Linked DNA regions of Homo sapiens: all the other regions are linked to region 4. Evidence: promoter capture Hi-C in 16 types of primary human blood cells and fetal thymus (Javierre and others, 2016). All regions are on one chromosome and are shown on one strand. Each heading gives the region's core, a stretch centred on a gene start or on the middle of the fragment in contact. The rest is flanking DNA. Distances are from core to core; before and after follow the strand shown.

The links. Contacts are between HindIII fragments. The CHiCAGO score rates a contact against its expected background, and 5 or more counts as called.
Region 1: a contact is called between the fragment with the promoter of PCCB here and the fragment with the promoter of NSUN3 in region 4, in 2 of 17 cell types (total CD4 T cells and total B cells). The highest score is 15.7, in total CD4 T cells.
Region 2: a fragment that was not itself captured here is called in contact with the fragment with the promoter of NSUN3 in region 4 in 1 of 17 cell types (non-activated CD4 T cells); the score reaches 8.1 in non-activated CD4 T cells.
Region 3: a contact is called between the fragment with the promoter of B4GALT4 here and the fragment with the promoter of NSUN3 in region 4, in 4 of 17 cell types (naive CD8 T cells, total B cells, total CD4 T cells and 1 more). The highest score is 7.6, in naive CD8 T cells.
Region 5: the fragment with the promoter of TIMMDC1 here is called in contact with the fragment with the promoter of NSUN3 in region 4 in 3 of 17 cell types (naive CD8 T cells, non-activated CD4 T cells and total CD8 T cells); the score reaches 23.3 in naive CD8 T cells.
Region 6: a fragment that was not itself captured here is called in contact with the fragment with the promoter of NSUN3 in region 4 in 2 of 17 cell types (naive CD8 T cells and activated CD4 T cells); the score reaches 8.1 in naive CD8 T cells.

The regions. Positions count from the first base shown.
Region 1 is chr3:136,247,747-136,252,120 of GRCh38, forward strand. PCCB (propionyl-CoA carboxylase subunit beta) reads left to right here and starts at 2,594. Exons shown (of 15, transcript NM_000532.5): 1 at 2,594-2,812. The coding sequence starts at 2,630. RefSeq lists enhancers at 2,233-3,099, 2,329-2,388, 3,019-3,068. The HindIII fragment of the contact is 10,493 bases long and covers 1-3,077 here.
Region 2 is chr3:119,463,752-119,468,051 of GRCh38, forward strand. No RefSeq gene overlaps it. Among named protein-coding and RNA genes, the nearest start is that of TMEM39A, 2.3 kb to the left of the region's middle. RefSeq lists enhancers at 1-24, 55-114. The HindIII fragment of the contact is 1,575 bases long and covers 464-2,038 here.
Region 3 is chr3:119,239,628-119,244,132 of GRCh38, forward strand. B4GALT4 (beta-1,4-galactosyltransferase 4) reads right to left here and starts at 1,251. Exons shown (of 8, transcript NM_003778.4): 1 at 1,223-1,251. The region is part of intron 3 of B4GALT4-AS1 (B4GALT4 antisense RNA 1); the gene reads left to right. RefSeq lists silencers at 938-1,417, 2,068-2,117. The HindIII fragment of the contact is 11,429 bases long and covers 1-1,953 here.
Region 4 is chr3:94,060,186-94,064,330 of GRCh38, forward strand. NSUN3 (NOP2/Sun RNA methyltransferase 3) reads left to right here and starts at 2,876. Exons shown (of 6, transcript NM_022072.5): 1 at 2,876-2,953. The coding sequence starts at 2,942. It overlaps DHFR2 (dihydrofolate reductase 2), which reads right to left and starts at 2,731. Exons shown (of 2, transcript NM_176815.5): 1 at 2,561-2,731; 2 at 1-1,421. The coding sequence starts at 1,326. The coding sequence ends at 763. RefSeq lists an enhancer at 2,770-3,009. The HindIII fragment of the contact is 2,538 bases long and covers 1,736-4,145 here.
Region 5 is chr3:119,496,078-119,500,737 of GRCh38, forward strand. TIMMDC1 (translocase of inner mitochondrial membrane domain containing 1) reads left to right here and starts at 2,470. Exons shown (of 7, transcript NM_016589.4): 1 at 2,470-2,850; 2 at 4,618-4,660. The coding sequence starts at 2,657. RefSeq lists an enhancer at 2,210-2,259. The HindIII fragment of the contact is 2,873 bases long and covers 122-2,994 here.
Region 6 is chr3:133,486,671-133,491,054 of GRCh38, forward strand. BFSP2-AS1 (BFSP2 antisense RNA 1) reads right to left here. Exons shown (of 4, transcript NR_189064.1): 1 at 4,232-4,384. It also overlaps the pseudogene MAF1P1. Among named protein-coding and RNA genes, the nearest start is that of BFSP2-AS1, 2.2 kb to the right of the region's middle. RefSeq lists enhancers at 709-1,209, 2,361-2,410, 2,431-2,560. The HindIII fragment of the contact is 969 bases long and covers 2,515-3,483 here.

The DNA of each region.
Region 1 (4,374 bases), core at 1,344-3,843, about 42 Mb after region 4:
TGAGAAAGAAGTGGAGGGAGAGAGGACTAGCTGGAGGAAGCAGTTAGGTTCAGTGAGCCTCCCTGTGTTGGGTTTTCTACTAAGCACTGGTTATCTAAAGTTAAATAAGAAAAACTTCCTTGCTTCTGAGGATCAGGATAGACTGCATGGAGGAGATGATACCTGAGCAGGTTTCAGAGCCTGAAAAGACATAGAGGAGGGGGCGAAAACCTCTGGACTCACATGCAATTGCCTATTTGCTAGCTCGATTCAATTTCACAAATACATTCTAAAGGCCTTCTCTGCGTTGGGCCTTGTTCCAGGTGCTGGGACCACAGTGGTGAGCAAATCAGCTGCAGTCCCTGACCTTTGGCTGGAGAGTCTGTCTAGGAAGACAGCTAAACAATCTTAACACAGTGTGAGATGTGCTTTATGTAAGGAACCTACAAGGCACTGTGGGACAAGGGAGTCCAACTGCCCCCAGGCCAAAAGCAAGTCCCAATTTCTGAACATGAAAAAACTCTTCACAATCTAATGCCATTCTCACTTTCCAGTCTCATTTACCACCATTTCCCCAAAAGCTGGGAACACAACAAAGTATGTGTGTGTGTCTGTGTATGTGAATCTGAACATGCCAGGCCTTTGCTCACACTGCTTCTGTTCCCTGGCATATGGATGCTTTCTTGGAGAAACTCTCCTCAACACACTCAGCCTTACTCAAATTCTCTCTTGTGCTCCCAAGGCAATCTGCCTCTCTAGGTTGTCCATCTGCCTCTCTAGGTTGGTAAAGTCTTTAAAGCAAGGACCCAAATGCAAGGTCAAGAGTACCCATTACGGAGTTATACAGATACAGGTGGGCTTTGCCTAGCCAAGAGGCTTTGGCCTCTAAGCTGCCCTCTCTATCTAGATGAACTGTTACTACTCCAGGAAATGCAATCAGTACTGATGTTTAGTTCTTGGCACATGGTAGGTGCTCAAAAATGTTTTCTGAGTTGAATTGCATTAACATTAAGGTCATAGGTCAGAATTTGTACTTTATGAAGGCCCTGGCTATGAGCTGGATCTGGGAAGGGCTCATGATCAACTTTAGCAGTTTTCTGTGGCTAAAAATGAGAAATATAAACCATGTTCTTTGTCTTGAAGACCTGCCTGTTAGTGGGAGAAACAGATGGTCAAGCTCTCAACAGTACAATTCCAAATTCCTAGAGCAGTGGTTCTTAAACTTTAGCAAGCAGATCAGAATCACCTAAAGGTCATCTGCTAAAACAGATGGCTGGCCCCAGCCCCAGAGTTTCTGATTTAAAGGTCTGGAGTAAGTTCTGAGAATTCGAGCTTGCATTTCCAACTCACTCCCAGGTGATACTGAAGTTGCTGGATTGACAAGATTCCCTCCTTGATCAAACATTGGTCAGGCTCTTCTGAGCTCTCTCTTTGACTAGGCCTGAGTGTGGGCTCCCATGTCATTCCTTGTGGAATTCCATTTTAGCAAGAAACTTGCCAAGTCAGTTTAGCCAGAATCCTCCATTCTTGATATCTGATTACTCTCCATATCTGGTTTTGACCCATACCGCCACCATCCCCCAGGTGATGTTCAGTTACCCTGACCTGCCTTGGGCAGGAATCCTGTTAGGTCAATTTAGCCAGATTCCCCGCCAATGTTTCCTCTTAGTAATTTTCCATCCACTGACTTCCACACACTGCCCCTTAGCTATAAATTACCACTTTGCTATATTCAGCCCAATCGCTCTGACTTATGGCAAAACTCTATCCCTACCTCTGTCAGATTGGGCCTGAATAAAGTTTGCCTTACCATTCTTAAACATGAATAATTAAGTGTCATGAATAGTTTTTTCTTTAATGGGATCCATACTTTGAGAACTACTGATTAGAGGTTAAGGGTCCTGTGCTCATTATCTGGCACATATTAATGATAGGTCTCTGAGTTTGAATCCTGGCCAACCACATTGTCAGTCTTGGCTTTTTTTTTTTTTTTTTTTTGAGACAGGGTTTTGCCCAGGCTGGAGTGCAGTGATGCAATCACGGCTCACTGCAGCCTCGACTTCCTGGGCCAAGCCATCCTGCCGCCTTAGCCTCCCGAGTAGCTGGGGTCACAGGTGCAAGCCGCCATGCCCAGCTAATTTTTAATTTTTTTGTAGAGGTGGGGTCTTACTATATTGCTCAGGCTGGTCTTGGGCTCCTGGGCTCACCTACCTCGGCCTCAGTCTTGCCTCTTGATCAAATCACTCATCTCTCTGTGCTTGATTTACCTCATCTGTGAAATCCAGATAGTAAGCTAGTGCATGGTAAGTGCAAAAAGCAACACCTGGCACAATGCTTAATAAATGTTGGTTAAATCTTATAATCATTTTCTGTAGGAAGTGGGACGACAAAGTTAAGGGTCTAGGTGGTCAGAGAAGAGCAAGGACTATGTCCCTTTTTTGTGCAGCCAGGCAGGCCCTGTACTTTTTCTCTGCGCGACCCTCCTCGGGCAGCACCGGGTCTCGAACTCTCACGCCTTACTCCCAAGCAGGTTCTGTAGTCCAGCCCCCGCGGCTCCCTACAGCCAGCCGATGCTGCGCAAGCGCCGTACCCACGCTTTAGCACATGCGTACTCAGGTGCGCCGGTAGGGGACGCGCCGGCACAGCAAAAATGGCGGCGGCATTACGGGTGGCGGCGGTCGGGGCAAGGCTCAGCGTTCTGGCGAGCGGTCTCCGCGCCGCGGTCCGCAGCCTTTGCAGCCAGGCCACCTCTGTTAACGAACGCATCGAAAACAAGCGCCGGACCGCGCTGCTGGGAGGGGGCCAACGCCGTATTGACGCGCAGCACAAGCGAGTGAGTCCTGAGGGGCCTAAGTGAGTCCCGCCCCTGGCGTCCGCGACCTATCACTGCGTGCCCGGCTTGCGGCGTCCGAGGCCTCCCTGCCAATCCGCACGGTGCCTGGAGGGGCCGGAGCAAGGGTGTTCACCTTGAAAACCTGTAGCGTTTCTCGTGGAGGCGGGTATAACCAGCAGAAGCACCTGTGTGCTTTTTCATACTGTTTAACCCTTGGGATTTAGACGGATCTGGCTCGTCTCTAGCCAGCTCAACACTTAACATAAGCTTTTGGGCAACTTATTAAATCTCTGTGGGTCATTTTAATAATAATTCTTCCTTCACAAGTGTATCGTTAGACCATAGATAGCAAAATGATAGGCGCTCAGTAAAAACCATGTGCTTATTCTCGTGCCCCATGAAAGAGTGATGGTAGGTTCTTTCTCCTTTGTGGAAGCAGGAAAACTGAACTTGGGCATACTCCACTAACATGAAATGGGGGATGTGCGCGTGCAGGAACTTGTGGAACTTCTGCCCGCAGAATGCCTGGTCGAGCTCTTTAGGGCCTTAGCATGCCTCGCCTTGATGGGTAGCAAAGGCACGTGTCGGAAGCAGGTGGCCTTTCTGGGAGTGCGCAGGCTACTCTCGATGTTTGGCTGGACTGAGCAGTTGAAACACTGCCACCCACCGCCTGGGTTTTGAGGCGAGAATCCAGCTGGCCTTCAGAGATAAGCTGGGCGGCCCATTTTGGAGAGGTGATCCCTGACTTGAAACCAGGCTTGCCCAGTGTGTCCGTGACTGGTGGGTGAGTCTGGACCGTTGTGCTGAACGAATTAACCAACGGGAAGGTGCAGAAGTGAAACTCTTACAGATGAAGAGTATTCAGGCACAACTCACAACCATGAGGGAGGCACTGGGGGAGGGATGGGGTCTTAAAGTGAGGAGATTTGAACAGCTCTATATTTGTCTAATATTGATTCAGATGTCATAAATTCGCATTTGACAAGGGTCCAAAGGTAACAGTTCCTTTTGACACTTGAGAGTGAAATGTAAATTTAGTGATGGTTTGTGGTGCTAGGAGTGCTTTCTCTCCCCTGGGGCTACTTCTAACCTACTCTGTTAGGGCTGAGGGAGATGTTAGATCATCCTCTGGAAAGGCCTGTCAGTGCTCCTGTACACTCTTTCTGTTGGGGCCTATTGCTCAATTCTTCCCTGGAACATCGCCTAGCCCTTTCCCAGGTAGATCCTACTAGGTTTAGATGAAGCCTCCAGAAGCTGTTTTTCTTTTGCCAAAGTTAACTTAGGAGGCTGATTTAATATGAACCCCCTCCTGCACCCCTTTTTATTTTTATGTTTTGATACGGAGTTTTGCTCTTGTTGCCCAGGCTGGAGTGCCATGGTGCGATCTTGGCTCATTGCAACCTCTGCCTCCCAGGTTCAAGCTATTCTCCTGCCTCAGCCTCCCAAGTAGCTGGGATTACAGGTGCCCACGACCATGCCTGGCAACTTTTTTTTTGTATTTTTAGCAGAGACAGGGTTTCACCATGTTGGCCAGGCCGGTCTTGTACGCCTGACCTCAAGTG
Region 2 (4,300 bases), core at 1-2,500, about 25 Mb after region 4:
TTAACTCGCGGTCCCGCCCCTTCCGGCCAGTGTTGGCCAAAGCATTTCCTCTTTCGGCCTCAGTCAGCTAGCGGCTGCTAGGTGCGGGCACCATGCTACTGATCCTTCTTGCTGTCTCTTGGACTCCATGTAGTAACCATGTACAAGTTATCACCGCCATTTTACAGATGAGTGTAGATTAGGAGGTGTCACCTAGGGTCACGTTACTGCTAAGTGAGGGAGCCCAAGTCATGAAGTCATGCGTCAGCATCCAACCCTGCGCTTATTGTTTGCTAAGAACTAGACAGATGCTGTGGTTACAAAGCGAATACCACAAAAGCTCAGAGTCTAGTGGAAGAGAGGCGACACTAAGAAAATACAGTAATTACCATTTGTTACAATATTAAAAGTGTGTCCAAGGTCCAGAGATAGCATGTAACACTAACGAATTCTGTGGGATGGTGGTGATGTCAATACCAAGAAAAGCTTTGCAGAGAGCTTGGGGTTTCAGCCAAGACTCCACAAAGGCATAGGGGCTTTGTGGGAGAATGGCAGTCCTCCTGGAGAAGTGGCAGATAAAAAGGTAAAGATCTGTGAGCAACGTCATCTTGAGTTCAGGAATTGACAATAGTTTGGTATTAGAAGAAGATAAGAGTGTCAAAAGGAGCATTTGTGTAATCTTTCACTCCAGAGATTTTAATCTCCTTAATAGAAAGTTGTTTGTATTGATTGAATGATTAACCTTTATTAAGAATTTTGTTGTGTCAGGCACTGGATTAGTAGCTTTACACATTTCATTTAAATCTCACATTTTGATAGCTTCTACTATGGTTATTATTTTACAGAAGAAACTGAAGTTAAGAGAAGTTAAGTAGCTTGTTGAAAATAGCCTGCCTGGCCAGGCAGGGTGGCTCATGACTGTAATTCCAACACTGGGAGGCCAAGGCAGGAGGATCACTTGAGCCCAAGAGTTTGAGACCACCCTGAGCAATATAGTGGAACCTTGTCTCTATGAAAAAAGTAAAAAAATAAATCGGGCATGGTGGCTCACACCTGTAGTCCCAGCTACTTGGGAGGCTGAGGTGGGAGGATCACTTGAGCCCTGGAGGTCAAGTTTGCAGTGAGCCGAGATTGTGCCACTGCACTCCAGCCTGGGCAACAGAGAGAGACCCTGTCTCAAAAATAATAATAATAATAATAGAAAAAAAAGAAAATAGCCTGGCTAATAAGAGCCAGAACCAGAATTTAGAGCCAGAATGACTGATATCGAAACCAGTAAAGTTGCTAATATTCCCAAATATTCCTAATGTCCTAATGTACCACAGAGCTGTCACTTAGGAATACACACAAGTCTCCAACTTAGGATGGTTTGACTCACAATTTTTCAACTTTATGATGGTGCAAAACCAACACTCATTCAGTAGAAACTGTACTTCCAGTACTCGTACAACCATTCTGGTTTTTTTTTCATTTTTAAATACAGTCATGTGTCCCATAATGATGTTTCAATGAAAGACCACATAAATGATGGTGAGCCCATGAGAGTATAATAAAACTGAAAAACTCCTATTGCCTAATGATGTAGCTGTCTTTATGTTGTAGTGCAATGTATCCTGGTGTACACAAACCTGCACTACCAGTTGTATAAAAGTATAGCACATACAATTATGTACAGTATAACATACTAAATAATGATAATAAATTACTTTGTTACTGGTTTATATATTTACTATACTATACATTTATTGTTATTTTAGATTGTACTCCTTCTACTTATTTTAAAAAAATGAAAGTTAACTGTAAAACAACCTCAGGCAGGTCTTTCAGAAGGTATTCCAGAAGAAGGCATTGTTATCCTAGGAGATGGCAGTTCCATGTGTGTTCTTGACCCTGAAGATCTTCCAGAGGGACAAGATGTGGAGGTGAAAGATGGTGATATTGATGATCCTGACCCTGCATAGGCCTGACCCAAACACACACGTGTGTGTTTGCATATTAGTTTTCAATAAAATAGTTTAAAAAGTAAAAAACAAAATAAAACATTTTAGAAATAGAAAAAAGCTTATAGAATAAAGATAGAAATAAAGAAAATAGGTCGGATGCAGTGGCTCATGCCTATAATCCCCACACTTTGGGAGGCCAGGAGTTTGACAGCAGCCTGGCCAACATGGCGAAACCCTGTCTCTACTAAAAATACAAAAATTAGCCAGGTGTTATGGTGTACACCTGTAATGCCAGCTACTCAGGAGGCTGAGGCACGAGAATTGCTTGAACCTGGGAGGCAGAGGTTGCAGTCAGCTGAGATAGCACCACTGCACTCTAGCCTGGGCAACAAAGCGAGACTGTCTCAAAAAAAAAAAAAGAAAAGAAAAGAAAGGAGGGAGGGAGGGAGGAAGGAAGGAAAAGAAAGAAAGAAAAAATATTTTTGTATGGCTGTACAATGTGCTTGTGTTTTAAGCTAAGTGTTATTACAAAGTCAAAAAGTTGAAAAAAAAAGGTTTGTACAGTAAAAAAGTTACAATAAGCTAATTTATTACTGAAGAAAGAAAAACGTGTTTATAAGTTTAGTATGGTCTAACTGTACAGTGTTTATAAAATCTATAGTAGCGTAATGTTCTAGGTGTTCACATTTACTCACCACTCACTGACTTATCCAGAGCAACTTTCAGTCCTGCAAGCTCCATTCATGGTAAGTGCCTTATACAGGTGTATCATTTTTACTCATTTACTGTACCTTTTCAATGTTTAGATACACCAATACTTACCATTGTGTTACAATTGCCTGTAATATTCAGTACAGTAACATGCTGAATAGGTTTGTAGCCTAGGAGCAATAGGCTATGCCAAATATCCTCAGTATGTAGTAGGCTATACTAGCTAGGTTTGTGTAAGTATAATCTATGATGTTCACACAACAAAATTGCCTGACACATTTCTCAAAACATATTCCCATTGTCAAACAACACATGACTGTACTGCACACCTTCCTGGAAGTAGAAAAATTTTTGACTAAAGTTTCATTTGGATTCCAGAAGAAATATGCTATAGTTTTGGATATACATTTTTTTTCCTGTCTGTTCACCCAAAGTGAGCCTCACTCATACAAAAACTGGGTGGTTCTGCCCTGGTGGAATATAGACCAAATGCCCATATGGGTGTAATATGTGACCGATACGGCCCATTCCTAGGTAATCAACATTATTTTCTCTTCCACCATTCCTTAACGTGCATCCTAAAGCCTCCACTACTGTCAAGCTAAATTTGATCCCCACCTTCTGCAAATTATGGCTCCCATATTTTTAGTGACTCCAGCACAATATTCCTTAACTGTAACGTTTCCTTTTCTTCAGTACAAAATATACCCCTCCTACCCCTTTCTCCAGATTTCCACTTCATATTGATCTTTTCCTCCACTGAAACCAGTGGCACTTAACTATTGCCTTAAATTGTAAACTATCTCTAAGGAAGCATATTTGTCTTCCCTACTAGTTCTAAACTCCTGGGAGCACAGATTTGATCTTGTACTTCCCTGTATTTCCATATTTCCACAAGGCTTAGGGATATAACCATGTACATTTTAGAAAATAGATAAATATTGCTGGGCGCAGTGGCTCACGCCTGCAATCCCAGCACTTTGGGAGGTCGAGGCTGGTGGATCACCGGAGGTCGGGAGTTCGAGACCAGCCTGACAAATATGGAGAAACCCCATCTCTACTAAAAATACAAAATTAGCCGGGTGTGGTGGCGCAAGCCTGTAATCCACCTACTCAGGAGGCTGAGGCAGGAGAATTGCTTGAACCCAGGAGGCGGAGGTTGTGGTGAGCCGATATTGAACCATTGCACTCCAGCCTGGGCAACAAGAGCGAAACTCCATCTCAAAAAAAAAAAAAAAAAAGAAAATAGATAAATATTTGTAGTTCTATGATTACTAAATATATCTACACTGACCTATATATACCTGTATAAAGATATATACCTGTACTATACTATATACCTATATTGTCCAGTATCATGTTGCCCACTGTCAAGAAACAAAATTTCATCAAATTTAGTTTAAAGTTCTTGGCCAGGCATGGTGGCTCACGCCTGTAATCCCAGCACTTTGGGAGGCCGAGGTGGGCAGATCACCTGAGGTCAGGAGTTTGAGACCAACCTGGCCAACACGGTGAAACCCTGTCTTTACTAAAAATACAAAAATTACCCGGGCATGGTGACACACTCCTGTAATCCCAGCTACTCGGGAGACTGAGACAGAAGAATTGCTTGAACCCGGGAGGCAGACGTCATAGTGAGCCAAGATTGTGCCACTGCACTCCAGGCT
Region 3 (4,505 bases), core at 1-2,500, about 25 Mb after region 4:
TCTATCCACTTCCCCTTAGATTATGTAGTCAAACAGTTCAATCCAGGTCAGTACTTTTTCACAACGTATGTTTTCAATCTGATCAAAGCTATAGGTAGACGAAAGTTATTGCAATTTCATGGGGTTTACAATTTCCATAAAGAACAAACCTGCTCTAGAAGACAAAATTCCAAAAACTTCTGAACTATATCCAATCAAGCATTATCTCCTCTCCCAAGAGAGACCTTCCAGCACTCCCCGCCTGGGTCTCGGGAATAGCCCTCCCTTCTGAATCCCAGTTTCTCAATCCGGACCCTGAATCCTATTCATCCTGATCTCTCCTTGATTTTCTTGCATCTTAAAGGTGTTATTTTCCTTTCTTTAAAAATTTAAAAAAAAAAAAAAAAGCCACAACTCGCCTCCACGCTCAGATTACCATTTTCTTTTTCCTCCTTTTCATCACCAAACGGCTGAGGAGGTCTACCAGTACCCTCACCACCGCCACGTCCCCATCCCTCACCCACTCTGGAACACTTTGCAACAGTGTGCACACCCACCCACTGTTGATAACTACTCTCCTAAGGCTACCAACCCATAGGCCTCTCCTCGATGCAGAGTCCTTTGGACTTTGTCTGTTTTTTTTCAAACCAAGAATTAACAGCCCTTATCTAATGGAAGACAGAACATCAAGGGATACAGATCAACAAACACTGGATGGCTGTCTCCGAAGTCTTTTATAATCCAGGTGACCAACCCCTTTGGAGAAAGGTCAAAGGTCGCCGGCCCCTCGCAGGACTGGGGCTGGTGTCAGCTGATCAGTTTCCCCGTTGAAACGCTGGAGAAGGAGGGTTTCCAGGAAGAAGGGGCTTTTTCAGGTTGATGCACCCGGCGGAGAAGTGCTGGGGGCGACCCCGGAATCGTGACCTGGGGTATGAATGAGCCCTGGATTTTTTCCTACCCGGCAGCACCTCGTCTGGCTCCCCCGGCCCGCAGCAGAGGCGGCGCCGCGCGGAACGCCAGCACCTGAGCCGGTGCCTCCCGCCAGGCTCGGCCTCCGTAGGCCCCCGGCCCGGCCCACCGCTCCGGCTGAGGCGGGACTGCCCCACGGACGCCGCCACGTCATCCCCACGCCCGCCCCGCTACAGCCCTGGGACTGACCCCGGCCGTCGCCCGGCTACCCTCGCACGGCGCCCGTGTCCAGGGAACTGCATTTCCCGGGCGCCGGCGGAGCCAGCGTACTCACCCCGGAGGCGGCCGCGGCGAGCTAGCACTGCCCGCGGAGAGGGGAGAACGCGGAAAGCAGCTCGGGGACCGCCCCAGCCGCCCGGGAGGCGGCTCTTGAGTACGAGCTCCGCCTCCCGCCTTGGCCGGAGAGGCTGGTCCGCCCGGCTCTGCACGCGCCTGGCGCTCCACCCCCGCCAAATCGACCACACCGGGCGCTGGAAGGAGCACCGGGAGGGAAACGGAGGGTTGACGCCTCGGCCTCTGGGTGGCTTTAAAACCCTGTGCCAATAGTAGACTGGGTGCTGAGCGCTTCCCAAATTCCATCCCCTTAAATACTCACAAAGCAGTAGGAAAGAGATAGGGACCCTTCCATTTTACAGAGTGGGAAACTGAGACTTTAGAGAGGCTAATAAACTTAATCACCCTGCGAGATTTCAGCCCTCTCAACTGCAAAAATGATAATAATAATAATAATATTTTTCCCATGTTGCAGGTCTGAGAATATTAAATGATTTTTTTAAATCCGTATTTCTTCAAAGATATTATTACAGAAAGCAAAGACAATTATATTTACACTAAAGATTTGAGTGAAAAATTATGGTAGGCTCTGTTTAGGCAGTCAGGATAGCTAGATTCTCTAATGCAGTCTCCCACTGCACTCACGGGAAAGTAGTAGATTCTCCAAGAACCACACATCCACTCCACCCAAAAAGGAACAAACCATAGCTAGAGCCAGTGCTGGGCTCATTAAGCTTCATAGCAGGAAATCTGAGGCTATACTGAGGCCGCATAGGCCCAATGTAGGCCCTTGGAAGCTGGAAAAGAGGGCCACCTAGTGGCAGTTGAGGATAGGTCAGTGAAATAGGTCAACACTGCTCCTGAACAAGGTCCAGTGTGAAACTTATTTTTTTGTGTTCCCTTTGTAACATGCTGTAAGGGTGTATAACCACATTTAGTGAAAAAGGACATTACTGGATTTCATCCAGTGGCGTTATACAATCAGTTACTTATACCCACATAGTCCCCAGGTCTTGAGCATATGATGCCTGGAAGCATAATATATACCTTTTGCAAGAATCACTCAGCTTTTCCCCTCCCCCTCCCCCTCTCTGTCTCCCTCCCCATCTCCCTCCCCCCTTTGCACGGTCCTCGTCTCCCCTTTGCATGGTCTCCCTCTGATGCCGAGCCGAGGCTGGACTGTACTGCCGCCATCTCGGCTCACGGCAGCCTCCCTGCCTGATTCCCCTGCCTCAGCCTGCCGAGTGCCTGGGATTGCAGGCGCGCACCGCCACACCTGACTGGTTTTCGTATTTTTTGGTGGAGACGGGGTTTCGCCGAGTTGGCCGGGCTGGTCTCCAGCTCCTGACCGCGAGTGGTCTGCCAGCCTCGGCCTCCCGAGGTGCCGGGATTGCAGACGGAGTCTCGCTCACTCAGTGCTCAATGTTGCCCAGGCTGGAGTGCAGTGGCTTGATCTCGGATCGCTACAACCTCCACCTCCCAGCCGCCTGCCTTGGCCTCCCAAAGTGCCGAGATTGCAGCCTCTGCCCTGCTGCCACGCCGTATAGGAAGTGAGGAGCGTCTCTGCCTGGCCGCCCATCATCTGGGATGTGGGGAGCCCCTCTGCCCAGCCGCCCAGTCTGGAAAGTGAGGAGCGCTTCTTCCCGGCCGCCACCCCGTCTAGGAAGTGAGGAGCGTCTCTGCCTGGCCGCCCATCATCTGGGATGTGGGGAGCGCCTCTGCCCCACCACCCCGTCTGAGAGGTGAAGAATGCCTCTGCCCGGCGGCGACCCGTCTAGGAACTGAGGAGTGTCTCTGCCCCGCCGCCACCCCGTCTGGGAGGTGAGGAGCGTCTCTGACTGGCCGCCCTGTCTGAGAAGTGAGGAGCCCCTCCGCCGGGCAGCTGCCTGGTCCGGGAGGTGGGGGGCAGCCGCCCAGCCAGCCGCCCCGCCCGGGAGGTGGGGGGGCAGCCCCCGCCTGGCCAGCCGCCCCGCCCGGCAAGTGGGGGGCAGCCCCCGCCCGGCCAGCCGCCCCGTCCGGGAGGTGGGGGGCGCCTCTGCCCAGCCGCCGCCCCGTCTGGGAGGTGGGGGCCCCTCTGCCCGGCCGCCGCCCCGTCTGGGAGGTGGGGGGCCCCTCTGCCCGGCAGCCCCGTCTGGGAAGTGAGGAGCCCCTCTGCCCGGCCACCACCCTGTCTGGGAGGTGTACCCAACAGCTCATTGAGAACGGGCCATGATGACGATGGCGGTTTTGTCCAATAGAAAAGGGGGAAATGTGGGGAAAAGAAAGAGAGATCAGATTGTTATTGTGTCTGTGTAGAAAGAAGTTGACATAGGAGACTCCATTTTGTTCTGTACTAGGAAAAATTCTTCTGCCTTGGGATGCTGTTAATCTATAACCTTACCCCCAACCCCCTGCTCTCTGAAACATGTGCTGTGTCCACTAAGGGTTAAATGGATTAAGGGCAGTGCAAGATGTGCTTTGTTAAACAGATGCTTGAAGGCAGCGTGCTCGCTAAGAGTCATCACCACTCCCTAATCTCAACTACCCAGGGACACAAACACTGCGGAAGGCGGCAGGGCCCTCTGCCTAGGAAAACCAGAGACCTTTGTTCACATGTTTATCTGCTGACCTTCCCTCCACTATTGTCCTATGACCCTGCCAAATCCCCCTCTCCGAGAAACACCCAAGAATGATCAATAAATACTAAAAAAAAAATAAATTTAAAAAAAAAAAAGAGAATGTAGGCCAACAATAAGCCACAGGATAACATCTCTGTCTGCCCAAATCACATTATGCTGAGGAAGTTTAATAATAAAGGAGAATAATAAAGGAGCCAAGCAAGTTAATCTAAAAAAAAAAAAAAAAAAGAATCACTCAGCTTTTCTATATTTGGTAGCTGGTAGGTTATTAATTGGAGAAGTTGGGTTATTGCTTTCAGTAAGTGTAGGAAAGCAAGTAGCAGTGATATCTACAAAATTAAAGATAGCTTTCCAATCTGCTTTTGAGGTTTTAGGGTGGCTTTCATTTCACAGAGAGGCATTGGCATTAATAAAATTGTTTCCTAGGGGTTTTTTTTTTGGCATCAGTCCAGAAACCCAACAGTTGCTCTAGTTTTTCTTGTTAGAGCATGAGCCTTAGCTAAAGCCATCTATAAATTATGGTCCCATGGATTTCCCAGCAGGAAATATGGAAAAAATAGAAAAAAAGATAAGATAGTCATGATAGCAGAGAAGTCTTGATCCATGATCTTGAGAAAGCTGTCCATGTCTAGGATGCCATCTGCTTCTGGGGAGAAACTTCCCTAC
Region 4 (4,145 bases), core at 1,626-4,125:
AGTAGGTGGAGTACGTTCTGCCCACACACAGGACAGGGAGCTGACAACCAAGGAGTGGGGGTTAAATACTCTAGCTTTCTCCCCTCCGTTTCCCTGTATCTCAGCAGTATGGAGCTCGTTACCATTGAGAACCTCCTCACTGATTTTGAACTGGTTTTTACCTTCTCAGTTCCATTTCTCCATACTTCGATTGATGACTTCTGGTATGACCTAGCAAATAAACTGCTTTCACTTAAATTTCAGTCTTGGAATCTGCTTTGGGTTCCCCAATCTAAGACAGAAATATATTCATTTTCCCATCACTGGACTTCCAGGTTGTTTTCAGTTTTTCACTGTTACAAAAAAGGCTGCAACATTTGTCTACAAACCTCTGGATATACATGTACGAAGCTTTTGGTATTTCCTACTAGTGAAACTGCTCAGCTGAAGGGTATGTGCATCTTCATCTTTAATAAATACTACCAACATTAGAAAAGCCTGACAATGTCAAGGAGTGGCAAGAGTGCCACATGTGATGGGTGTGGAATGGCAGCTCACTGTAGCAGGTGCTGGGGACTCAGTCGGGGTCTTGGAGAGACAGTTATAGCAAGAATGTTTCATAAATGGTATCTGATATAGCCAAGATTAGTGAGGAATAAAAACACGTTGCTTAGAAATAATTATCCATAGATCTGAAGTCAACAAAAGTCCCTTTTCTAATGTAAAAATGCATACTTTTCTCAGAGGGAGGGGGAACAACTTAAACCAGAAAACACCTTCATATTAATCATCCTTCTCACATACTTCAAATTTGTACTTGATGTGTTTCCCCTCCTGGACATCAGAGAGAACACCTGGGTATTCAGGCAGAAGTTTATATTTCTCCAAGTCAATTTCTGAAAAAAACGTGTCACTTTCAAAGTCCTGCATGATCCTTGTCACAAATAGTTTAAGATGGCCTAGGTGATTCATGGCTTCCTTATAAACAGAACTGCCACCAACTATCCAAATCATGTCTACTTTATTTGCTAATTCTGGTCGTTCAGTAAGTTTTAAGGCATCATCCAAACTTCTGGCAAGAAAATGAGCTCCTTGTGGAGGTTCCTTGAGTTCTCTGCTGAGAACTAAATTAATTCTATCCTTTAAAGGTCGATTCTTCTCAGGAATGGAGAACCAGGTCTTCCTACCCATAATCACCAGATTCTGTTTACCCTCTACTGAAGAAGTTGTGGTCATTCTCTGGAAATACCTGAATTCATTCCTGAGCGGCGGCCTGGGCAGGTCCCCGTTCTTGCCGATGCCCATGTTTTGGGACACAGCGACGATGCAGTTTAGCAAAAGAAACATGACAGCAGCGGTTAACACCTCCGAACTTGCTGGCTACGCCAGGAAGCCAGGCCAAGAATGCCGCGAAATTCCCTTCTTCAAATTTTTTTACGTGCCTACATTGCAAATACAATACCACTGTATTAATTAATTGCAACATTCTGGAATGAACATAGAAAAATAAATTATATAAAATATATTTATAAAGTATAAATTTATAAAATATTTATAAAATATAAATTTATAAAATTATAAAAAATACAGAGGCTGAAAGGTTAGACCGACTTTTCCACAAACATTAAACAGACGGCATCCAAGAGATGGCATCATTTCATTCCTGATTATCATAGTCTTTTGTACCAAATCTAAATTCTAATAAGATGCATTTTTTAGGTGACTTGGAAACTTGTTTAAATAAATAAATATATTAAGCTTCAAATCAGATTAGAAGGAAAGACATGTTTTTACATGAATATAAGACTTGTACCTATAGCATGTACGTATATTGATATGAGCATCAAGGAACAACTCAAAATGATGATTATTAACTATCAGGGACCATATCAAACCGGTTTTTTCTAATTGCTGATTGCTGCTACAAATGATAGTTACTGAAGCATGACACCAAAAGAGCAAATAAACTTCTATTCGTGTCAAAATAGGTGTAATAAACATCTTCCTTGGAGAACCATTAAACATTGCTCCCTTGTAAAGGTGAATTGGGGAGGCTAGAGTGGAGGGTCCTTTTGGTCTTCACGCATTTGGTATCAACGCGACAAAAATCACAATGATCACAATAGTGAAAATAATAGCAGCTAACATTTGGGCATTTACTGTTTCCTAATCACTGTTGTAACCGCTTTACATGCCTACTTCAGTTTAACACTCTCCATTAAAAGGAGAGATTATCCCCATGGGCCAGGTCTGGGGAAAAGCATGACTTAATTTCTTTTTCATTATATTCCACCCTTTTATCCTTGGGTACTGAATGTCTAGGTTAACAGGGGTCACTAGATTTGGTAGATTAAGTCAGTAACTAGCTTCGCTTTGAGAATATTTTAAATCAGTCATCATACAACATAACCCCAAAACTCATTCCTTTATTGAGCCCCATGCATATACACACTGTTCAGCACAATATGCGACTTTTTATTTATTTTTGAGACAAAGCCTCGCTCTGTCGCCCACGCTGCAGTGCAGTGGCGCGATCACGGGTCACTGCAACCTCAAACTTCTGCCCAAGCGATCCTCCCACCTCAGCATCCGCAGAAGCAGGGGCCGCACAGGCGCGCAGATGTGTGACTTTCTAAGGTCCGGCCGCCCAAAGCTACGCCGACCAATCCAAGTAGCGAAAGTCGCTTTGGCCCTGGCCCGTTACCTCCGCGTCCTGGGAAGTATCAGCCTTTACCAGCTACCGGAAGTAACTGCGCACGAAATCTCCCGCGGGAGCTAAGCCTCTTCGACAAGAATTCTATAGCGCGAGCAAATCAGTATCTCGCGAGAAATTGAAGAGGAAACGTGAGAATGAAAGTGGATGCCCGCGAATCCCGGAAGTCAGACTGTTTTTTTCAGTTCCCTGGAGGCTTTTTGATACTGATTCGCGTACACCTGTTGTTTGAAAGCTCTCAGCGGGACAATGCTGACCCAGGTGAGACCTGGGGCCCGGCTGGGTACCTCTATCTGAATGAGACGCTTCTGGACGCGGCCGAGGTGGCGAGGGAGGGTGCTGGGATGGGGGAACATCACCTTTGTTCGTCCCCTCGCGAGATCAGCGTTTCTTTGGCTTTACTGTCAAGCCCTGAAATAATGCTGAGTGCTGTAATGCTGAGTCCCTTCCGTCCAGCTCGCAGACTTCTAGTACCCACTCCCTCCAGCTCTTGGAGGGCTGAGATTTGTTTTCTGTGTCACAGCGGTATCCCGGGAGCTTAGAACAGTGTCTGTTACATAGTAGGCATTGAATACACGTTTCTTGGATGAATAAATGAAACAATTGCAAGGAAGTTCACGATGAAATTGGAGTGACTTTTCTCCCTAAATTAACTTTTCACTTTAAAATAACGTTGCAAAGATAGTACAGAGTTCTCAAATACCTTTCACCAATTTTTCTTGATGTCAGCATCCCCGGTGACTTTTTAGTTTTGTTTAGATACAAGTTCTTGCTCTGTCACCCAATCTGGAATGCAGCTGCTCCATCATAGCTCACTGTAACCTTGAACTCCTGGGTTCAAGCGATCCTCCAGCCTCAGCCTCCCTAGTAGCTAGGACTACAGGAGCAGGCCACTACGCCTGGCTAATTTTTTTTTTTTTTTTACTTTTTGTAGAGACACGTCCTTGATATGTTTTCCAGTCTGGTCTTGAACTGGGAAATGATCCTCTCGCCTCGTCCCTGCAAAGCATGAGCCAGCTGGAGTACAGTGGCGCGATCTCGGCTCACTGCAACCTCCACCTCCTGAGTTCAAGCGATTCTCCCACCTCAGCCCCCTGAGTAGGTGGGGTTACAGGCGCCCACCACTACTCTCGGCTAATTTTTGTATTTTTAGTAGAGACGGGTTTCCCGTGTTGGCCAACCTGGTCTTGAACTCCAGACCTCATGTGATCCTCCCGCCTCTGCCTCCCACAGTGCTGGGATTACAGGTGTGAGCCACCTGCCTAGCCCCTACAGTGACTTTTTAAAATTAATTTTGTTCCTTTTGACAGTTTCTTCAGCCCCAGTAGATTCTGTTTTAACCTTTGCTTCACATTTGGAAAATAATTATTTGGAAAAACCTTGCTTTTTCATAATTAGATAATGTACAGTTTTGGTACATGTAAGGTATTGCTTCCATTTCAAGAACTAGTAA
Region 5 (4,660 bases), core at 1,220-3,719, about 25 Mb after region 4:
CACATGTCCTGGGGACAAGAAAGCCATATGTGAAACAGTGGTCCAGTAAACCCCATAACACCTTTTGGCTTAGACCAAGCTTGTCCAACCCATGGCTCACGAACTGCACGCGGCCCAGGAAAGCTTTGAATGCGCCCCAACACAAATTTGTAAACGTTCTTAAAACATGAGATTTATGCATGGACTTTTTTCTTTTTCTTTTCTTTTTGTTTTTTGTTTTTAGCTCATCAGCTACAGTTAGTGTTATGTGTGGGCCAAGACAATTATTCTTCCAATGTGGCCCAGGGAAGCCAAAAGATTGGACACCTCTGGCTTAGACTGTATTGATCGGAGAACCTTCAAAAAGAGCAGACTACAGCCTACAGGGCTGGGCTTGGTGGCTCACACCTGTAATCCCAGCACTTTGGGAGGCTGAGGCAGGCAGATCACTTGGGGCCAGAAGTTTGAGACCATCCTGGCCAACATGGTGAAACACCATCTTTACTAAAAATACAAAAATTAGCCAGGCTTGTGGCACATGCCTGTAATCCCAGCTACTCAGGAGGCTGAGGCACAAGAATCACTTGAACTTAGGAGGCAGAGGTTGCAGTGAGCCGAGGTCTTGCCACTGCCCTCCAGCCTGGGTGACGAAGCTAAGACTGTATCAAAAATAAAATAAAATAAGCAGACTACAGAGGAGGGTGAGCATTTCCCTTGTTCTAAAAGAAGGTAAGCCGTAAGGGATTGGGGAAGTAGGAAATGTGGGAGGGCTCAGATGGAAGAGCAGCAACAGTGCGAGCAGTAGCCAAAGGAGAGGGGAGTTTTTTGAGTTATCAGGTGGCAAAAGGAACATTACAAATGAGTCTTCCGTTACCCAAATGAGAAACAAGTTATGGAATTTAAAATTTGCCTGTTAATATTACCTCATCTACAGGCTAGTGAATCCTGGGGCATTTGAGTTGTACATAAGTGATTGTGTCAGTATCTTCCCAACACCCACCCAAACCCTCCTACCCATTTCAAGTCCTCCTTCACCCCAGAATAATTCTGGGGTCATCTTATGCATTTAGCTTTTTCTACATATAGGTTAGAAACAGACTGTACAGCCATTTTCTTGGGCTTTCAGGCCTTGGTAACTTATCTTGGTGCCCACTTCTACCTAACATGGGATAAGCAGTAATCCAGAGCCAGAAGTCAGGAGATCTGAATTATTCAACAAATATTTACTGAGCACCTACTGCGGTTCTAGGTCCTGGAGATACAGAGATGAATATATTTGGTCTGTGATCTCAAGGATAGTTTATTGAGACAGATTAATAGGAAATTATGATGCAGTGTTGTAAGTGCTACGATGAGTGCTGAATCAAATCTCATATCCCAGAGTAGTCTTCATGGCGCTGTCACTAATTGAGCTGGTCACTCTAGTCAGTCACTTCTCAGGGACTTATGTGTAGCATTTCCAGCTATCAAATTCCTAAGTCCACTTACTGTATTCTACTACAGTGTGGCAGTTTTGATTGACAACTAGAAAGGAATCAAGGAGGTGAAGGGATTGGCAAAATGAATAAGGGAGTATGCTTGTTAACAAGGATTGAATGAAATTACACGAATATTGAGAATATTTTAAATGCATTCATTTTAATGAAAACTGTACTTCGAAGCATATGTTAGCAGAGGTTGTAGTGACGGCAAATTATACAAACACTTGATAGAAATTCCAGAAATTCTCCTGCCTTTTGAGAAGCAGTAGGCATATGAACTAAAGGGAGTGAAATCCACCTTAGGAAGACCTGCCAAAAAGCTGATTCTTCAAAAAAGTGTTCTCGAAATCTTAGTGTAACTGGCACCAACACCCATCCCCAATGCCTCGTTTTTTTTCCAGCAGAACTGACAAGGTACAAACGGACCCCGCCCAGCCTGGAAGGCTTCTCTAATGTTGGCAGAGTAGGTTGGACTTGTTTTTGCACAAATCGCCTTTCCCTCTTTCCCTACTCCACTTGCACTGAATATTGCACTTTCTTCCTTACTGAAGCGGGATTCCTGCCTTTTTTTTTTTTTTTTGAGACAGATTTTCGCTCTTGTTGCCCAGGCTGCAGTGCAGTGGTGTGATCTCGGCTCACTGCAACCTCCGCCTCCCGGGTTCAAGCGATTCTCCTACCTCAGCCTCCCGAGTAGCTAGGATTACAGGCGCCCGCCACCATGCCCGGCTAATTCCTGGCATTTTAAATACGATAAATTACTTCAACCTATGACCACCTCAAGCTGAATATAAGTAGCCGCAGACACCGTTTGCATGACCCAGGAACCACAAACACGGAGCGAAGGCCTGCCGGGACCACGCTGAGCTTCACTACTGGCAGCCAACTCACTTCCGGGGGTGCACTCAGCACAGCAGTGGCCCAACCCGCCCTCAACCGGAAGTCTTTTGGGCTCCGGCTTCGCCGTCGCCCCGCCCCCTGGCCTTTGCCCCGGTCGGGCGGGACTTCCTGTGTCGTATTTCCAAGGACTCCAAAGCGAGGCCGGGGACTGAAGGTGTGGGTGTCGAGCCCTCTGGCAGAGGGTTAACCTGGGTCAAATGCACGGATTCTCACCTCGTACAGTTACGCTCTCCCGCGGCACGTCCGCGAGGACTTGAAGTCCTGAGCGCTCAAGTTTGTCCGTAGGTCGAGAGAAGGCCATGGAGGTGCCGCCACCGGCACCGCGGAGCTTTCTCTGTAGAGCATTGTGCCTATTTCCCCGAGTCTTTGCTGCCGAAGCTGTGACTGCCGATTCGGAAGTCCTTGAGGAGCGTCAGAAGCGGCTTCCCTACGTCCCAGAGCCCTATTACCCGGAATCTGGATGGGACCGCCTCCGGGAGCTGTTTGGCAAAGAGTAAAAGTGCCTAGGGTGTGAAGTGGGGTAGGGGGCCGCGAAAGCGGTGTCCTGCAGCGTGGGCAGCCTGGGTCAGCCTTAGGACACCAAGGATGGTGTGCTTCATTTTTAGATTATATTTGAGGTTCTGATATTTGTAACCCAAGCTTGTATCTTTTTTCTTTCTTTTTTTTTTTTTTTTTTCCAGACAGGGTCTTGCTCTGTCGCCCAGGCTGGAGTGCTGTGGTGCTATCTCGGCTCACTGCAACCTCTGCCTCTGGGACTCAAGTGATCCTCCCACCTCAGCCTCCCGATTAATTGGGACTACAGGCGCGCACCACCACGCCCGGCTAATTTTTTTTTAATGTATTTTTTATAGACAGGGTTCTTACCATGTTGCCTAGGCTGGTCTTGAACTCTTGGACTTAGGCGATCCGCCTACCTCGGCCTCCCAAAGTGCTGGGATTACAGGCGTGAGCCACCGCGCCAGCCCAAACTCGTATTTTTCTTTCTTTTTTTTTTTTTTTTCGAGACTGAGTCGCGCTCTATCGCCCAGGCTGGAGTGCAGTGGTGCGATCTTGGCTCACTGCACTCTTCACTTCCCAGGTTCAAGCGGTTCTCCTGCCTCAGCCTCCAGAGTAGCTGGGATTACAGTTGCCCACTACCATGCCCAGCTAATTTTTGTATTTTTAGTAGAGACAGGATTTCACCATTCGCCAGGCTGGTCTGGAACTCCTGACCTCACGTGATCTGCCTGTTTCCGCCTCCCAAAGTGCTGGGATTACAGGCCTGAGCCACCGCGGCTGGACTGCGCCCGGCCTAGAAGGGCAATTATTTTATAGTAACTTAATACTTAAGACAGCTATTTGTTAGAGCAGTCTCAGGATGACATCTTGGAAGCTTCATTAGCAGTTCTAGCTTCTTATGCATTTGAGAGTAACAAATCGAATTAAATAGTAGTTTTTCCTTGTTATTTTAGATTGGCATGTGCCACCCACTGCATAGTGAACTTTCCCAGTGCGTTTTTAAAAAAACATTTATTTGTTTATTTTTAGAGCCAGGATCTTTGCTATGTTGCTATGCTGGATTTGAACTCGGGCTCAAGTCCTACCTCAGCCTCCTAAGTTAGCTGTGACTACAGGCGTGTGCTACTGTGCCCAGCCCAGTGCTTTTATTAGTACAGTCCTATCTGAGTATTTCATGAAATTATTTAGTAAAATAGAATTTAGATTTTTTGTCTTACATCCACGTTTTTATTCTTTCATACATTGCCCTAAAATCTCACGAGTTGGTGTGATTTCTAAAAGTTAACTTAAGATTTAAACGGAAATATTGGTCTCTCTATCCAACTCACAAATTCTTCCTATTTCTAGGGGTGTAATAGTCATCAAAAGCACCTTTTAAAAAACTTTTTATTGGAGTAGGAAATGCATTTCGAAAAATGTGCCTAAGTATACTGATGGATGAATTTTCACAAACTGAACATAGCTGTACCCAGCACTAAGAAAGAAATGGCAACTATTGTAACATCCCAAAAGCTCCCCTTGTGCCTTTTCCGGTCATTGTCTTTTCAGGAGTTGCCACTATCCTAATTCTAACACCATAGCTTCGTTTTGTCTGAGACTACGTTCCTTTTAATATAACTGAACTGTTTAATTCATCTGAGAATTCTACCTATGATGAAAAATGTTGTGGTGGTAGCATTTGGGTTAATTCTGATTATAGAGTCTCTTGGAGAGCAATGTCCATAAACTAATCCCAAACAACATTGTCTTTTTGATGTTGTAGTGAACAGCAGAGAATTTCAAAGGACCTTGCTAATATCTGTAAG
Region 6 (4,384 bases), core at 1,749-4,248, about 39 Mb after region 4:
TCGGGGAGCTCCTAGGTCTGGGCTCCCCAAAGGGCCACAGCTCTTCTCTCCTTCTCTCTTTTCTCCTTCTTATCACCTGCAATGTGGTGAGCAATGGGTGTGTTTCAGCCCTGTTTGTGTTACAGCTCTTTCAGCCCTGGTACCCCAAGTCCCACGTCCAGGAAGAATGAGGTATGCGGGCAAGTGGAGGGTGAGCAAGGCAAAATGGTGTTTTACTGAGCCACAGAACAGCTCAGAGGAGACCCACAGTGGGTAGCTCTTCTCTGAAGGCAGGTCATCCTGATGAGAGTCCAGCTCTCAGCAGAGAGGAGACCCACAGTGGGTAGCTCCTCTCCGCAGGCAGATCATCTTGATGTCTGCCGAAGTCTGGCTGAGTCCAGGGTTTTTATGGTCTTCAAAGGGGAGGAATGATCAGCAATGCACGCTGATTGGCCTATGGGCGGCCATGGGTGGGGAGAGGCTGGGCAGCAGAAGCAGGCATTTCCAAGCCTGTGAGGGCTTCCCTGGCCCCCAAGACTGCAGGAATGCCCGAGTCTGCAGCCACAGCTGGGCAGCCTCACTTTGCTCCACAATCATAGTGGGTGCCAGGAGCAGAGAGAGGCCAGGCAGCAGGAGCAGGCATTCCCAAGCCTATGGGGCCATGGGGGACTTCCTGGCCCCCGAGAGTGCAGGAATGCCTAGGTCTGCAGGGCAGCTGGGCAGTTGCAGCTGCACCTGGGAGGGTGGGGCTCCTGTCTCTCCAACCAGGAATGAGTCCTGGCTTCCTCCTGTTCCCAGCTTCCACCGGCTCCTGCCAGCTTCCACCGGCTCTTGCCAGCTTCCTGGAGTACACAGCCCTGGTGTGCCTCCCCTACTGCAGCCAGCGTCTTTGCAGCAGCTGCTCCAGATAAGCTGCCACTGCCATCACTTGGAAGGTTGAGGTGGGAGAGATTGCTTGAGCCCAGGAAGTGGGGACTGTAGGGAGCCATGATCATGCCATTACACTCCAGCCTGGGTGACAGATCGAGATCCTGTTTTTAAAAATATAAATAAGGCCAGACACGGTGGCTCACGCCTGTAATCCCAGCACTTTGGGAGGTCGAGACTGGTGGATCACAAGGTCAGGAGTTCGAGAACAGCCTGGCCAACATGGTAAAACCCCGTCTCTACTTAAAATCTAAAAATTAGCCAGGTGTAGTGGCAGGCGCCTGTCATCCCAGCTACACAGGAGGCTGAGGCAGGAGAATTGCTTGAACCCTGGAGGTGGAGGTTGCAGTGAGCTGAGACTGCACCACTGCACTCCAGCCTGGGGAACAGAGCAAGACTCTGTCTCAAAAATAATAATAATAAAAAATAAATAATAAATAAAAGTGAGCATCCTTCCTGATTTTTAAGAAACTCCCTGTCAGTAATTGTTAGGGGGCTAATCTTCTCAGGTTACAAGACAGACCTCTAGGGGGCAGTGTTGTCCAAACTCCACAGGCCAGCCTGCTGGTCTCAGGGGGACCCATCTTGAGTACCCTATTATGTACTATGTTCATGGAACCTAAGGCATCATTGATTAATAGAGATACCATTACTGGATGTGCCACTAAAAATGAAACTACTCCAGATAGAAGTCTATTAGACCCCAGATAAAGCTGAGACACTAAAGGCCTCTGTGGAGGGGGTCCATGAGAAATATACAGAAAAAAGAGAAAGAAAGGGACATGCATAGTAGGACAGCAAGAGAAGTTGCATGTTTCAATTTTGCCATGGATGGAGGAAGTAAAATCTGCCCGTATAATTTGAATCAAAAGTTGGTTCTCATGCAGTTTTCTGGTACTACTTGTGCCATCAAAAAAACCTCAGAGAATTTAATGTACAAATGCACCTCAACTTATGATGATGTTATGTCCTGATAAACCATCATAAGGTGACTATATCATAAGTCAACTTTATCCAGTTGTAAGTTGAGAAGCACACTGAATGCATATTGTTTTCACACTATCACAAAGTTGGAAAATCATAAGCTGAAACATCGTAAAGTTAGGGACCACCTGTAGTTTCACATTATTATGAGTTCCTTGGCAAGGGTAGAACCCAAAGCTTATATAATTTGATGCCCTCTTTTAAAAAAGAAATACAAAATATCTTACTCTTGCAAATTTTATAAAAACCTATGATGAGGCTGAGTGTGGTGGTTCACATCTGTGATCCCAGCGCTTTGGGAGGCTGAGACAGGCAGATCACTTGAGGCCAGGAATTTGAGACCATCCTGGCCAACATGGCAAAACTGCATCTCTCTACTAAAAATACAAAGAAAATTAGCTGGGTGTGGTGGCACGTGCCTCAGCTACTCTGGAGTCTGAAGCATGGGAATCACTTCAACTTGGGAGGCAGAGTTTGCAGTGAGCTGAGATAGCAACACTGCACTCCAACCTGGGCAACAGATTGAGACTGTCTCAGAAAAAAAATATGTAATTTGATCCCATGAAGCTGTGAGGTGGAACCCTTTCAGGACCTTGGAAGGGCCATGCAAATGAGGTGTCCTGAAGCTTTACTCTCATTGGTAACTCAGCCTGTGCCCCAAGTGACAGGCAGAAGCAAAGAAAAATCCTCTACAAATGAACACAATTTTAATCGAAACAACAGCAATCACAACATACCATCAACTATTATCATATCCTGACTTCAGAGATGTTAAAGTACACAACAGTATGCTTCTTAGGAGCAATGAAATATGATATTTCAAAAAGAAAAAAGATAATGTAAATTTTGACCCTGACTTGGCTAAGACAATAACACATGACAACAACAATGATGATAGCTATCATTTATCAAGCTCCTACAGTGTGCCAGCCTTCTCACAAACTTTTTTTCTGCTCCTCACATGAGCTTAATGCCACCACCAAAGACTTGAAAGATACAAGGTAGTGATTCCTACCAAATCCACAATTAACTCACTTGTTTGATCAGTGTACAAATCAAGTAGGTCATAGAAAATGACCACAGATCATCACGGACTAATCCAGTGGTGAGGTGAATCACAACCAGAATTGCAGAGACGGTATTTTTACTGGAGCAAATCCACACAGTCCCTGGCACCTGGGCCACTATTGACCTGGCAAATGCTTTATCCTGCCCACCCCCACCTTAATCCTCTTCTGCCCTGTTGTGGCAGGGACAGCAGTATACTTTTACTGTCCTGCCTCCGGGCTATGTCGGCTTGCCTGCACTTAGTCAGAATGCAATCTGGAGGGACCCAGAAGCCCAAGCTGATCCATTACATATCTTTATCATGCTAATTGGACCTGGAGAGCCCCAAAGAGCTAGCACCTAAATGCCTTAGTAAAGTACCTGCAATGCCAGAAAATGGGAGATAAAGCCTGACAATATTCAGGAGTCTGCCACATGCGTGAAGCCTCTAGAGTCCAGTGGTCTGGGCTTTGTTGGGATAGACCTTCTAACATGAGATTCAAGTTGTACTTTACACCAGAAAGAGCCATGAAGAAAAAGATATGAAGCTTAATTTTCAGAAGTAACACAAACCAGATTTGAGTATCTGTTGCTGTGAACCACTAACTCAAGTAACCCTTAAGGGTACAAGGTTTTTGGCTTTTGTTTTTGAATTTTTATTTTAACATAATTTCAGGCTTACAGAGCAGTTGAAAGAATAGTTGAAGAATTGCCATATACCCTTCACTCAGATTTCACAAATATTAACATTTTCATAGGCAGACAGAAGCAAATTATTTTTAAGTTGAAGTAGTTAAGTTTCTTTTATACTTATTTAGTTCTAGGAATTTTGACTGATAGACATTGACTGGTGGGGGAGGTGGAGGTTGCTGGCTGACCAAGGTGATCTGTGGTGGTTGGTGGCATGTTGGTGGCTAAAGCAGGCAATGTGCAGTGTGGTAAGGATGTGTCATAGTGACCACCTGGATGAGCCAGCAGGGCCAGGTATAATGAAACATTGCCATGGAGTTTCTTCCCCCAGATACAGTGTGGCCCAGGTGGATGCCACGGTGCCACCCTCTGGTGCTGAGGAGCCCACACTGTGCGGAGCCTGCCCTGCCTATGCACCGGTGCCGATGACCCAGCCAGGCCTGATTTAGCCCCACCAGGCAGGCAGCAATGGCCCCTCTCAAGCATGGAGCTCCCTCCCTGAGACAGGAAGCTATTGGAGAACTGGGCTTTGAAGCCATCAACTCACAGCTAACTGTAGAGAGCAAAGATACCCACATTATCAGCAGGATTGAGAGCTACTCACGTAAGATAGCAGGAGACGACAAACACTGTTCTGACAGGAGGGCGGCCCACATACTGAAGGCTCTCTCCCCATCCCAGACCTCAGGCCTCAGCCCCAGCAGCCTGAGCAAGAACCAAGGTGGCAAGGACAAGGGCCCCCCTCAGGGACAAGTGC